Linked DNA regions of Homo sapiens: regions 2 and 3 are each linked to region 1. The links are contacts of gene promoters, found by promoter capture Hi-C in blood cells and fetal thymus (Javierre and others, 2016). All regions are on one chromosome and are shown on one strand. Each heading gives the region's core, a stretch centred on a gene start or on the middle of the fragment in contact. The rest is flanking DNA. Distances are from core to core; before and after follow the strand shown. Region 1 holds the start of CFAP54 (cilia and flagella associated protein 54). Region 2 overlaps SNRPF-DT (SNRPF divergent transcript). Region 3 overlaps CCDC38 (coiled-coil domain containing 38).

Region 1 (2,613 bases), core at 34-2,533:
CACAAAAACATATGCTCTATAAGGACATGGATTCTTATATGTTTTGTTAACTTGATGTTTTCCTAGTTCCTTGAACAGCACTTGATATACAGTATGTGCTCAATAAATAGTTGTTATATGCATAAATAAAAAATATTTTATTTTATTTATTTATTATTATTATTTTTTGAGAAGGAGTCTTGCTCTGTCGCCCAGGCTGGAGTGTAGTGGCGCGATCCCAGCTCACTGCAACCTCTGCCTCCCGGGTTCAAGCAATTCTCCTGCCTCAGCCTCCTGAGTAGCTGGGAGTACAGGCATGTGCCACCATGCCCAGCTAATTTTCGTATTTTGTATTCATGTATAAATTTTTGGCTCGCTCAAGGGTTTCACAACTTTCCATGTTATGAGTATATAAATTTGTATATGGAGAAAAAGGAATAACTTCGAGGTAGCTCAGGTTCATGAAGCTAGCTCTTGATACAATGAAGTATGTCATCCTGTGAACATGTGCACTTTAATTCCTTCTTATATTGCTATTAGGATTACAGTGACTTTTTCTTAATTTTGCTATTCATTCTGCGCAACTGTTTGCCTTTTTGGGAGTTCTATCACCATGTTATTACTGCAAACTGCGAACTCTTTTTAAGGTTCTTTCCTGCTTATGTTACCATCTTTCTTTTCTGGTCAAATAACAAATGGTGAGTTATGAAACATTTCTGTGTAGATTTTTATTTTGACCTGAGCAGGAAGCCAAGATATAACAGCTCCCAGGAATTAAGGATTGTTAAGAGCGACGAGTCTCCACTTCTTAAACTTTGTCTCTCCTGGGCCCTTCAGCCAGCCCCTGCGTCCGCAACGCTGAACCATCTCTGGGGCCACCACCTGCATCCTCCAGCCCTTTCCAGGGGTCCCTCCTCTGGCCGGCGCCCTCCCCAGTGCCCCGCCAGCGCTTACCAACGCCGGCGGAATTCGTGCTTCTCTTCCTCCGTGGTGGCTAAAGCCTTCTTTTTCCTCATAAAGCCTAACAACTCCTGGATCTCCTTCTCACAAGAGGCCAGGAGCGGGTTTTTCGCGTCCAGCGGCCCATAAAACACGGCTAGGGGCAATGAGTCCTCGGGGCAGGTCCACTGAAGCAGCGAGCTCCGGGAGCTCCCCTTCGACTCTGGGGGCGACCTCGAAGTCGCGGTGGAGGTCGGCGGCAGTTCTGGCAGAGACCCCGAGGTGGTAGAGTCGTCTGACGGAGAGCTCGAGGGGGAGCCCTGCGCCGCCATATTGACGCGCCCCGGCCCGCCTGGAGTATGTGTACACGCGGTTGCCTGGCGACGGTCTCGTGGCAACCGGGCATCCCGCGCGCATTCCGAGAAACACAGCGGCCCCTGGAGGGCAGAGCGAGAAAGAACCAGGTCCAGAAAACAATGATGCTCCTGAGGGCGTTGCCTGGTTGTGCGCTGGCACCGCTGTATGAAATGCGAACAGAGAATGTTCTGAGCAGAGCGCTGGCGAATATTAGAGCCAAAAATTTAAGGTCACAAATCCAGACTATACTCTTTATCCATGTTGGCCACTTAATAACGATAATGATGACGACCATGACCATTAACGTGTGTCAGGCATTAAGCATTTGAAACATGTACTTTCATTTATCTCATTTAATCATCATAACTACTTTACAACTTAGGATACTATTAGTATATCCATCTCACAGTTTAGGAAACCAAAGCTCAAGGAGGTTAAGTCATTTGACAAAAGTCAGCGTACAACCGTAGTGTCAGCGACCAGGTCCTCCAAAGGGAACTTGTGACTCCAAAGCCTGTGCTCAAAATGAATAGGCTGTATTGATCACTCCCCAAAACAAAGCTTATTAATCAAATTGAAATTAGAGAAATATCTGACAAGCAGTTTAAGAATCAAATACAGTTGGCCCTCCAAATCTCGGGTTCTTCATCTGTGGATTCAAGCAACTCCAGATTGTAAATATTCAGAACAAAATTAGAAATAACAATACAACAATAAAAATAACACAAAATACAACTATTTACATGGCATTTATACTGTATTAGGTATTACTAGTTATCTAGAGATGATTTAAAACATCCTGAAGGATGTGCACAAATTATATGCAAATACTACAGCATTTCATATCAGAGGCTTGAGCATCCACAGATTTTGGTATCTGCGGGTGTCATGGAACTAGTCCCCCACAGATAGCCAGGGAGTACTGAATATGCAGCTGATCCATTCTCTTTCCTCTATTTGTACCTTGAGGTCTGTAACTGTGGACATGATGTCTATGCCTCTAATAATTATGATTACATCTATTTATGCACATTCCAGCCTTACTTTAATTATCTCTGTATTCTAAATTAATGTGCATTTTGCTCAACCTTAACCATAGGACATTAATACATACTAGTGGCCTGAAGTGTTAACTCTCAAAATACTTTGCATTTTAAACAGGGCTTTTAGGAGACTTTACTTCTGATGGGGAAACTACAGACCTCCAGGGAAATACTTGGGGAGTTTATTCTTAGCCTGTGTATTATAGGCAAAAGTCAGAGTTAAATTTATTAAAGTATGAGTATTGAGAAAATGGAGAACCTTCTTTTCTATAAATTATGCAACACAATAAATTAT
Region 2 (2,613 bases), core at 37-2,536, 640 kb after region 1:
GCTGCTGCTTTAGTGCAAAGTAGCAGTATGCTTCGGGGTATCATTTTCTGAGCCCCAACAAAGGAAACCTGGTATTGTGGGTAGGAGCCAATACTGTCTGAGTTCAAATCCTGACTCTGCCATGTGCAGCTTATCTCTGCTTCAATCTCCTCATCAATAAAGAGGATGATCATGATAGTACCTATCTTAAAAAAATTTTTTTTTAGTGAGGTGGGCTGTAACTATGTTGCCCAGGCTGGTCTCAAACTCCTGGGCTCAAGCAATCCTCCTGTCTCAGTCTCCCAAGTGGCTGGGATTATGGGTGTATACCACCATGCCCAGTTCAATACCCATCTTATAAGGCTGCTATTAGGATACAATATTTGTGGTGTTTATCCACCTCCTGATACTGAATAGTTTCTGTAGCGAGGTACGTAGGCACGTGAGTAGGTCAATGTGACCTACAATAACTAATGCTAATAACTAATATTGGACTACTTGTTTGCTGTTTGCTAAACTGCTGCTTGCTCAAAAAGTTCTGGGCTGTTGGCTTTGATTCTTCAGCTGTGCTGGAATCCACTGTGCACATCTATCTGTCTGGGTCTATCACTTCACCTCTTGGGACCTGGGGGGCAAGGGAGGCTGACATGGCTAAGACAATGCTTCTGTTTGCTGTGTGTAGTAAACTGTCTTGTTCTGATCCACATAGTCTCATTGTCTCCTTTCAGCACCTGTGGAGAGACAGCAGGTTTACTCCTTGCTACCTGAAGTTGGGGTTCTCTCCTGACTCTCACAGGGTTAACATTAAATGAAGAACATTAAATGAGATAATATATGCAACGCAGTACAATATCTGGTCAGTTCGATAAATATTTGTTCTCCTACATTTATATTCAATCAAAATCTAATTATCCCCAAAAGCTTGGTTTAAGTAATGTAAAACCAATGTAAAAGTAGCACCTTATATATTTATGGGGAGACCAATCCCTTTATGGACCAGAAAATTAGTTTGCCTAATAACTCAAGATATAAGAGATTAGTCTAGACCCAAAACCACATTTATTAGCCATTAAGTGCAGAGGGAGCTGGAGGGAGCTAGCAATCAAGGACCTGGGAAACAGATGAGACAGAAAATGAGTGGATGCATACAATTTGTTCATATATATTGAGTTATATTAAAAAAGCAGTATAGGCCAGGCAGTGTGGTGCATGCCTGTAATCCCAGCACTTTGGGAGGCCGAGGTGGGTGGATCACTTGAGGCCAGGATTTCAAGACCAGCCTGGCCAACATGGTGAAACCCCATCTCTACTAAACCTCGTCTCTACTAAAAGTACAAAAATTAACCAAGCATGGTAGTGCATGCCTGTAAGCCCAGCTACTCAGGAGGCTGAGACACAAGGATCACTTGAACGCAGGAGGCAGAGGCTGCAGTCAGCCGAGATGGCACCACTGCACTCCAGCCTGGGCGACAGAATGGGACTCTGTCTCAAAAAAAGAAGGCAGTATATACGGCAGCAGAAGATAATAAAAACAGTATATTTAATAGCACATTATATGATTGTTTTATATGATTGACAACATAATGGTTGATAATGCTGGTTCTAGAGGCCAGGTTCGAATCTGAGTTTGAATCCTGCCCCCAACACTTACTAGTGGGAACTTGTGTAAGTTACCCGCCCTCACTAAGCTTATTTTCCCATGACATAGGGATAATTGTTTCTTTCTCCCAGTGTGGTAGTGGATGTTAGGAGTTAGTACAAGGTTGTTCCTCTATCCTTCCTGAAGATGTGGTTTTAAAACCATTAGATGGAGTAAGCAAAGTATGCACCTGTGCTGGGGTATGGGGGTAGTCACAGTGGTCTGAATGGAGTGAGGAGAACATCCACATAAGAGAGCAGCCAGTGTGGGGTGTCAGAGCCTGAGCAGGAGGAGGAAGGTATCTACATAGGAGGGCAGGCAAACATGGGAAGTTGGTGCCTGAGGAGGTGAGGATGGTGATCACGCATGGCGAGGGGCAGCCCAGCACCAGCCATTGGAGCCCAAGTAGGATGAAGCATCCCCAGAGGGTGGCCTGACAGGGAGTGTTGGAGCCTGAGTGGGGTTAAGAGGGTGTCCACACTGCGGGGAAGAGGGTGGCCTGCTGTGGAGTGTCAGAGCCTAAAGGAAGCAAGGAGGATGTCCATGCAGAATGACCTGGCACACGGTGTCAGAACCTGAATGGAATGAAGAAGAAATGCAGGGGAGGGGACAATGGCAGGAAGGGAAATTTGTTACAAGGGCACTAATCAAAGGAATCAACCTATAATAATGAGCATACTTAATGCTCAGGTTTTAGTTTCTAGAAACTGCTTCCCACTAAAGGAATCAGGATCCCTTCGAACATTGGCTATTTTCAGTCTTCTTCACTATAGTAACTGGTAGACACCATCTTATTACAATCCAGTGATCAAACAACTATCGTTAGCAACTGGAAAATCAAAATCAGGTGCCACATGATAAGATGCAAAGAAAAGATGCATTCTGTGATATTCTTACCAAAGCCACATAACCTGAATCTAGTAATCAGGAAATATCAGACAAACCACATTGAGGAACAAAGTGGCCTGCAATGTTCAAGAGTGTCAAGGCCACAG
Region 3 (2,613 bases), core at 52-2,551, 580 kb after region 1:
CCATCCTTCCCTGCTTCTAGTGACCACTATTCTACTCTCTACTTCTATGAGGTCAACTTTTTTAGCTTCCACGTAGGGATGAGTATTTAAATTCTTAAATTTTAGATTCAGGGGATACATGTGCAGGTTTGTTATGAGGGTATGTTGAATGATGCTGAGCTTTGGGCTTCTATTGATTGCATCACCAAAATAGTGAACATGGTACCCAATAGGAAGTTTTTCAACCCTTGCTCCTCTCCCTCCCTCCCTGCTTTAGGAGGCCTCAGTGTCTATTATTCCCATCTTTCTGTCCATGTGTACTCAATGTTTAGCTCCCACTTATAAGTGAGAACATGCAGTATTTGCTTTTCTGTTTCTGTGTTAATTCACTTAGGAGAATGACTTCCAGCTCTATCCATGTTGCTGCAAAGGACATTATTTTATTCTTTTTATGGCTGCATAGTATTCCATGGTATACATGCACCACATTTTCTTTAGCCAGTCCACTGTTGATGGGCATCTAGGTTGAGTCTCTGTATTTGCTGTGGTTAACATTGCTGTGATGAACATACAAGTGCATGTGTCTTTTTGACAGAACAATTTATTTTTGGGGAGGTAGGTACCCAGTAATGGGATTGCTGGGTTGGATGATAGTTCTATTTTTAGTTCTTTGAAAAACCTCCAAACTGCTTTCCACATGGGGCTGAATTAACAGTGTATTCCCATCAACAATGTATAAGCATTCCATTTTTCTCTGCAACCTAGTCATCTGTTATTTTTTGACTTTTTAATAATAGCCATTCTGACTGGTGTGAGACGGCATCTCATTGTGATTTTGATTTGCATTTCTCTGATGATTGGCAATGTCGGGCATTCTTTCCAGTTTATCGGATGTCACTTGTATGCCTTCTTTTGCCTACTTTTCAATGTGTTTTTTTCTTGTTAATTTGTTTAAGTTTCTTGTAGATTCTGGATATTAGGCCTTTGTCTTTGACAAAGGTTGCGAATATACATAGCTTGCAAATATTTTCTCCTATGCTATAGGTTGTCTGTTTAGTCTGTTGATAGTGTTTTTTGCTGCGCAGAAGCTCTTTAGTTAAATTAGGTGTGAATTGCCAATTTTTATTTTTGTTGCATTTGGTTTTGAGAACTTTTCCTAGGCCAATGTCTGGAAGAGTATGTCCCAGATTTTCTTTTGGGATTTCTTTTTATAGATGGAGGTCTTACATTTAAATCTTGAATCCCTCTTGAGTTAATTTTTGTATATGGTAAGATGAAGGGATCTAGTTTCATTCTTCTGCATATGGCTAGCCAGTTTTCCCTGCACCATTTATTGAAAAGGGGATCCTCTCCCCATTTTTTATTTTTGTCATCTTTGTTGACAATCAGTTGGTTGTATGTGTGCAGCTTTATTTCTCTGTTTTCTATTTTGTTCCATTGGTCTGTCTATTTTTGTACCAGTACCATGCTGTTTTTGTTACGGTAGCCTTGTAGTATAGTTTGAAATCAGGTAATATGATGAGTCCAACTTCGTTCTTTTTGCGTAGGATTGCTTTGGCTATTTGGGCTCTATTTTGGCTTCATGTAATTTTTATTTTATTTTTATGAATTATTTATTCATTTAGAGACAGTGTCTTACTCTGTCCCCCAGGCTGAAGTGCAGTAGCATGATCATAGCTCACTGTAACCTTGAACTTCTAAACTCAAGCAATCCTCCTGGCTTAGTCCTGTGAGAGGCTAGGACTATAGGCACGCACAACCATGCTCAACTAATTTTTTAATTTTTTTGTAAAGATGGGTTTCTTGCTGTGTTGCTCAGTCTGGTCTTGAACTCCTGGCCTCAAGCAATCCTCCCACCTTGGCCTTTCCAAGTTTTGGGATTACAGGCATGAGCCACCATGCCCAGCCTGAATTCTAGAATAGTTTTTTTCTAATTCTGTGAAAAGTGACATTGGTAGTTTGATAGGAATAGCATTGAATCTGTAAATTGCTTTCATAAGTGTGGACATTTTTAATGACATTGATTGTTCCAATCCATGAGCCTGGAATGTTTTTCAATTTGTTTGTGTCATCTATGAATTCTTTCAGCAGTGTTTTGTAATTCTCATTGTAGAGTTCTTACACCTCTTTGTTTACAAATATCCATAGGTATTTTGTGTGTGTGTGTGTGTGTGTGTGTGTGTGTAATGTAAATGGGATTGCATTCTTGATTTGGCTCTCAGCTCAAATGTTATTGATGTATACAAATGCTGTTGATTTTTGTACATTGATTTTGTATCCTGAAACTTTGCTGAAGTTGTTTGTCAGATCTAAGCCTCTTTTGGTGGAGTCTTTGGGGTTTTTTAGGTATCGAACCATATCATCAGTGAAGACAGATAATTTGACTTCCTCTTTTCCTATTTGGATGCTTTTGTTTCTTTCTCTTGCTGGATTGCCCTGGTTAAGACTTCCAGTATTATGTTGACTAGGAATGCTGAGAGTGCAAATCCTTGTCTTGTTCCAGTTCTTAGGGGAAATGCTTCTAACTTTTACCTGTTCCGTATGATGTTGGCTGTGAGTTTGTCATAGATGGCTGTTAGTATTTTGAGGTATGTTCCTTCGATGCCTAGTTTGTTGAGTGTATTTATCATAAGG

The links. Contacts are between HindIII fragments. The CHiCAGO score rates a contact against its expected background, and 5 or more counts as called.
Region 2: a contact is called between a fragment that was not itself captured here and the fragment with the promoter of CFAP54 in region 1, in 4 of 17 cell types (monocytes, fetal thymus, neutrophils and 1 more). The highest score is 8.1, in monocytes.
Region 3: a contact is called between a fragment that was not itself captured here and the fragment with the promoter of CFAP54 in region 1, in 1 of 17 cell types (neutrophils). The highest score is 6.0, in neutrophils.

The regions. Positions count from the first base shown.
Region 1 is chr12:96,488,247-96,490,859 of GRCh38, reverse strand. CFAP54 (cilia and flagella associated protein 54) reads right to left here and starts at 1,283. Exons shown (of 68, transcript NM_001306084.2): 1 at 934-1,283. The coding sequence starts at 1,250. RefSeq lists an enhancer at 1,035-1,244 and a silencer at 1,135-1,429. The HindIII fragment of the contact is 3,410 bases long and covers 1-1,838 here.
Region 2 is chr12:95,851,745-95,854,357 of GRCh38, reverse strand. The region is part of intron 1 of SNRPF-DT (SNRPF divergent transcript); the gene reads left to right. Among named protein-coding and RNA genes, the nearest start is that of SNRPF-DT, 5.8 kb to the left of the region's middle. The HindIII fragment of the contact is 767 bases long and covers 903-1,669 here.
Region 3 is chr12:95,909,854-95,912,466 of GRCh38, reverse strand. All of the region lies in intron 4 of CCDC38 (coiled-coil domain containing 38), which reads left to right. Among named protein-coding and RNA genes, the nearest start is that of CCDC38, 31 kb to the left of the region's middle. The HindIII fragment of the contact is 4,522 bases long and covers 1-2,613 here.